2 separate regions of the Homo sapiens genome follow, and region 1 is linked to region 2. Evidence: promoter capture Hi-C in 16 types of primary human blood cells and fetal thymus (Javierre and others, 2016). All regions are on one chromosome and are shown on one strand. The core of a region is centred on a gene start or on the middle of the fragment in contact, and the rest is flanking DNA. Distances in the headings are between cores, read along the strand shown.

Region 1 (2,992 bases), core at 69-2,568, 300 kb after region 2:
AGTAACTTTACCAAAAAAAATAAGAAAAGCTCCAAGGTGAAATATTTTGGTCCATGCTCTCTGTCTCTGTCTCTCTCTCTCTCCCCCCATACGCACACACACACACACACACACACACACACACACACACACACACACAGAGTGTGATATGTATAAAATGCACATATTATATTATTTTAATTATATATATCTATATATAAAAAATAAATGAAACAGAATAGTATCCAGAAATATAACCAAATATATATGTATAAACTATATAATAATATTTATAATAATTTAAAGAAATGTAGATTACTATATAAATGAAATTCATGGGAAAAAGTAAATTTCTATCTGCATACAGTTATAAAAGCAAAATAAATTTTAATTGGATCAAAGATTAAGTTTTAAAAATTAGAAAAAAGCACGTGAAGATTTTTTTATAATCTTGGAGTTGGTAAGGCCTCTAAAGCATGATGTTAAAGAAGCCATAAATATATGGCTATGTAATGGATAGAATTGATTGACTTAATCATTTTTAGATTTGATATATCAAAAAAACCCACAATCAACATTAAATAAAAAAGCAAACTATAAAATATGTGCAACATATATGACCAATGAGACTAATTCCTTGTAAATCAAAATATTATTAGTAATTAAAATAAAGAAATATCAATAAGTAGAAAAATGAGCAGATGCACAAGGAGTTCAAAAGAACAGAAATACTCTGCAACTCTATGACAATAATAAGACATCTTTACCTTACAGATTGAAAAAATGTCAACATAATTTGGAGTAATTTGGGGAGAAAATATGTTAATTATTTGTCAATGAAAATCTAAATAGAAACATACATTTTATACTTAGTAAACATACTTAAAGTAGAAAACAGGTAACATTTTAATTTAAGAGGCAAAAAATATGCCCAATTAAAAATAAAAACCCTATTTATTATTTAGAGAAATGTAAAATAAACAAATAGGAATTTTAAAAAAAAGCTTTCTATTGTCAGTTAAATTGGCAAAGGTGGCAAAGACAAGACATGAATTAGCGACACATTGGAGAAAGATAAACATAATTGAAGTCACAGAAGAAGAGAGCACAAGACTAAAACAATAGCTGAAGAGATCCTGGCTAAAAGCTTTCCATAACTGAAGTATAGTTCTAGCCATAGAAGCAAGACATTCAATAAACCACTAGCAATAAATAAATAAATAAATAAAATAAATAAATAAGCAAGATCATAGTAAATCCTAGAATTGTTGGGACAGGAACCACAAAATCCATAAGTGGATCAATGGGAATGATGCAGAGAGAGTCCAATCTATGCCTTGTCTATTCCTTGTTATCTGATTGTGAGTATTTTAGCTACTGGTGACACAAAATTGCAAATTAACTGTCATTTCAACAAATATATTACATTTTGGAGTTCACCATCTCAAAAAATGTGAGTATAATCTCAACAACAGACTTTTATCTGAGGCTTTTAAAGGTCATTCCAATCTTGTTTGTGGCTGGAAGCTTCCCAGAAAAATGGATCCATGATATGTCTCTATTGTCACACCTCTTCACTGTAAATTCAATAAATTCCAGTTTCTTCACTGTAAATACTTTTGTCTATAATTCCAGAGACAATCTCTGTGGAATCCTATATCCATATGTCAAACACTCTGTGTGCCCTGGAATTGTGTCTGGGGAGAAGGACTACAGGTAGAGAGGGAAAACTCACATCAGGAATAGGAATGAATTCCAATAAAGACAAATCACTACCCCCCCTTCAGAGGAAGGGGTGTGATACAGTTGATTTGCCACCAAATGGATGTGGTCTTTCTGCAGAATGGCACCATAACAAGGTTGCAGCATGACTCCCTTCTGCCAACAGACCAAGCATTCAGGAGCTGTAGCAGTGGTATGAGACTAACCTTGATAAAAGAGAGTCCATGTTTTTGGTCCCTGATAGGCATTGTTGTAAAGTACAAAAATCTACACACTTAGAGCCCACTCACATACGTTCATCCTCATTCTTCCCTCCCAGACTACTTTCCTCCAATTTTCAATTTTGATCTTCAAGACCCCTAACAAGCTAGCAAAGCCATTTTTCAAAGCCCACAAATTCATGTTTATTTTTACTTATGACCAATTCTCCATCTAAATCTGATAACTAAGTGCAATGTTTATGGCTCTGGCCAATGAGAGAATTCTTCCTCCTGAGTGTCCATGAAGGTCATCTGAGTGAGTAGTAATGCAGCAGCAGTCCCATTTTTTGGCTTGCACCAAGGCATAGAATGAAGTCATCCGTAGAAACTCTCTCATGAGGCCATAATATTGAGCTTAAGAAAATATATTAATGCCACAGAAATACTTGATAAGGGATTTAGACTATCTGTTCATACCAATTCCTAGTGCCTTTATACCTGCTTCAGCGTGGTCCTACACATGCCATTTCCAATGTGTGATGGCTTGCTGCTGTGGCAGCTAGAAATTATGATTTAATAAATCTGATAACAGTTCATGATGAGCAGTGCTTTTCATGTAGGCAGTCACTTGGAAATCAATGGTCAGGTACTTAGTCCCTGATAAGACCCAACAGCATACTAAGATCTATTTTTAAATAGTAAGCAGTTGGCTTCTGCAGAGCTTTTTTTCTGGAATCCTAAAAGTATTGTTATTTATCTAATTGACTTTTGTAAATAATCTACACAATGTCCTTATTTATCATGGATATCTCCATTTCATTGGATTTCTGGTCGACATAGCCTGAATGGCTGGGCAGTTTGCACTGAAGACCAGAGTTAGTACGGGGACCCACTGAAAACTGGAAATACTATGAATCAACCTAAAATTGATCTAAAGTAGTATTTATGAAGCAGTTTTTATGCTGCCTATAACATTCAATGATCTTGAGAGAACTGTGCCTCTTTCTCAGTGGTAAAGAATATAAAACAAAATAATGTGTATTTTATGTAATGAGAGGATAGTCTAGCCTGCCCTAGCGTATTGGACTCAA
Region 2 (2,700 bases), core at 75-2,574:
GATCTCACTCTTTTGAAAGGTTTCAGTACACATGCAATTGATTTCTTCTGTCAGCTAAGATTAAAACTAGCAAAGATACATCACAGAAAAATAATATACGTATATATACACCCACCCACCACATAACTACTCAGTGAGGCCACATATGTTTAAAATGTTTTATTGAGCATTGGCATTTATCATTAATGAGCTGAATTTAACTGCTAAGGAACTGTGAAAGATAAGTCTGTCTACCTGAGTGTGAGCCAGAACATACTACTGAAGCTACTCTCTATAGTTATAAAAAATTAAGGTCAGAAGTGGCCAATTTGGCTTCTTTTTCAAAGATATCTCAGTTTTGGCTAACTGTTAACCCCAGGACTCTCTTTAGAGCATCTTTCATGTCTTTGTTTCGAAGACTATAGATAAGGGGATTTAAGAATGGAGTCATTGCTGTGTATACCAGAGTGATGATCTTCTGCATTCCTGCTGGGTTCCCTGATGTTGGGCTCACATACATCACCATAAGGGTTCCATAGAATAGAGACACCACCATTAGGTGGGACCCACATGTGGAGAAAGCTTTAGTTCGACCAGCACCAGAGGGAATACAAAGCACAGCTCTGATGACCAGAGTGTAAGATCCCAAGATGGAGAGGAAGGGCCCAAAGATAATCATCGAGTTGAAGGTGTAACAGATAAGCTCAGTGGAAGGAGCAGAGATGCAGGCCAGTGCAAACAATGGGCCTGGGTCACACACCAAGTGGTCAATGATGTTGGGCCCACAGAAGGGAAGTTGGGAGATAAGAACAATAGGGACTGGATAGCAGAGAAATCCGCCTACCCAGCATACACAGACCAGAATTATACAGAACTTCCCAGTCATGATGGAGGGGTAGTGTAATGGACGACAGATGGCCAGGTACCGATCATAAGCCATAACTGATAAAAAGAAACACTCTGTTGTACCCAGTGAAAAAAAGAAATAGAATTGCAGGAAGCAACCAGAGAAGGAGATGGTTTTAATCTCAGAGAGGATATTGACTAGCATGTTTGGGACAGTGGAGGAAATGTACCAGATCTCTAGAAAGGCAAAGTTTCCCAGAAGGATGTACATGGGTGTGTGGAGCCGCCTGTCCAATTTCACTGCACAGACAATAGCTCCATTCCCTAGCAGTGTCAGGAGATAGAGAACCAGGATGAATGAGAAGAAGCAGCTCTGCATCTCCCTTTGACCATGGAAACCCAGGAGGACAAACTCAGTCACAAAATGCATTGTTCTGTTCTGGGGTCCCAAAGCTGTTAGAAAAACAGAAGTAACCAAAGAATGAATAATAAAGAACATTTGGAGATTTTGCTAACTCATGCTGGATGATGTACTAAGTATTTTTACATACATTATCTCATTTGGTCTTCCTAATGACTCTTTGAGCTGCGAGGAGGTATTCTTTACCCTTCTCTTTCACAGACAGGGTAATTGAAGTTCAAAGAGATTAGAAGGGTTCACTTAAACATATGTACAAAGCCAGTAACGCCCAGATACACTGGCCTATTTGGAGATTGGTTTGGAACAAATCATGTTTCACTTCAAATTTTCTATAACCCTGAGTCTCAGTAATGTTTCATCTTTAATGGTAAAATCACTGCCCCTTAGATACTCTACATATAAATATAAACTTTGGATATATTCTTTTACTTTAAAGCAAAATTGAGTATAAATCTGAAGCAAGAATAGTTGCTATATTAAAATTGCCTTCTTAGAGCCTCATATGTAGAAGTCCAATAAAAAGCAGATAGGAATTAAACTTTGGGGAGTCTTCAGCTCCCTTCCTTTTGCTACTCTCAGGGAGGTGCTGCAGAACCCTTAGGAATCTGTAAAATGGTCTGAAAGCTACAAATCTAGTTCCCCCCAGATCACATTCTCCCTGGTGGCATCTGGATTTGCTGAATAATCCAGCCCCTTTTTCTCGTGAGGAGCTCTAGTTCTCTCAAAGCCCTTCTTTATGGTGAGCAAACTTTGTATCCTTTATTACTTTTACCCATTGATCTTGGTACTCCCCAAGTCAGCAGGTAAACTTTGACTTTGTTGAAACTACACAAAATAAGTCTAATTCCTCTCCCATGATGGTGGTAGTGAGGTCTTAAATAACTGAAGGCAGCTGTTATGTCCCTTACCTATGACTTCTTTGGCAGGCCACCATTTTCCCTGCTTGTCAGCCTCCTTCTCCAACAAATTGTACTATTCTACATCATGACTTAGCTCTTGAGGGAGCTTGCTGTTGGGTAAATCAATTTCTCTAGTAATAAAGCCATGTGCCTTTATTTTTGCTAGAAATTAAGTCCTAAACTTTATAATTTGTCCCTTCATTATCTTGCTTTTCCATAAATTAAATAATGAATAAAAGAGTCACCTCAGGATGTGCAGAGAACAGAAAGATCTTTCTGATATTTTCTAAATCAGGAGTTGAGACAAGATAAATAACTTAGATATTTTGCTAACAATTTTCTAGAAACTATTGGTCCAGCAGGCTTATTTCTGTGTCCTCAAATATCCTTGTTAAAGTTCAGAATATTTGGCTGGGTAAGCCACTATCAATATTTTAAATTTAGCAATATAATGACTTTAAAATTAGGATAATTTATTGTATTATTAGCGTCACTGTTAAGATACTCACAAAATTCCATCTTTACATCATTTATATGATCCACAGAGAGCGAGAG

What was found. Contacts are between HindIII fragments. The CHiCAGO score rates a contact against its expected background, and 5 or more counts as called.
Region 1: a fragment that was not itself captured here is called in contact with the fragment with the promoter of OR11H6 in region 2 in 1 of 17 cell types (erythroblasts); the score reaches 5.4 in erythroblasts.

Annotation. Positions count from the first base shown.
Region 1 is chr14:19,926,507-19,929,498 of GRCh38, reverse strand. The region is part of intron 2 of LOC124903278 (a long non-coding RNA gene); the gene reads left to right. It also overlaps a transcript of OR4K1 not described here. Among named protein-coding and RNA genes, the nearest start is that of OR4K1, 2.9 kb to the left of the region's middle. The HindIII fragment of the contact is 380 bases long and covers 1,129-1,508 here.
Region 2 is chr14:20,222,334-20,225,033 of GRCh38, reverse strand. It overlaps OR11H6 (olfactory receptor family 11 subfamily H member 6), which reads right to left and starts at 1,324. Exons shown (of 1, transcript NM_001004480.1): 1 at 332-1,324. The coding sequence starts at 1,324. The coding sequence ends at 332. The HindIII fragment of the contact is 8,071 bases long and covers 564-2,700 here.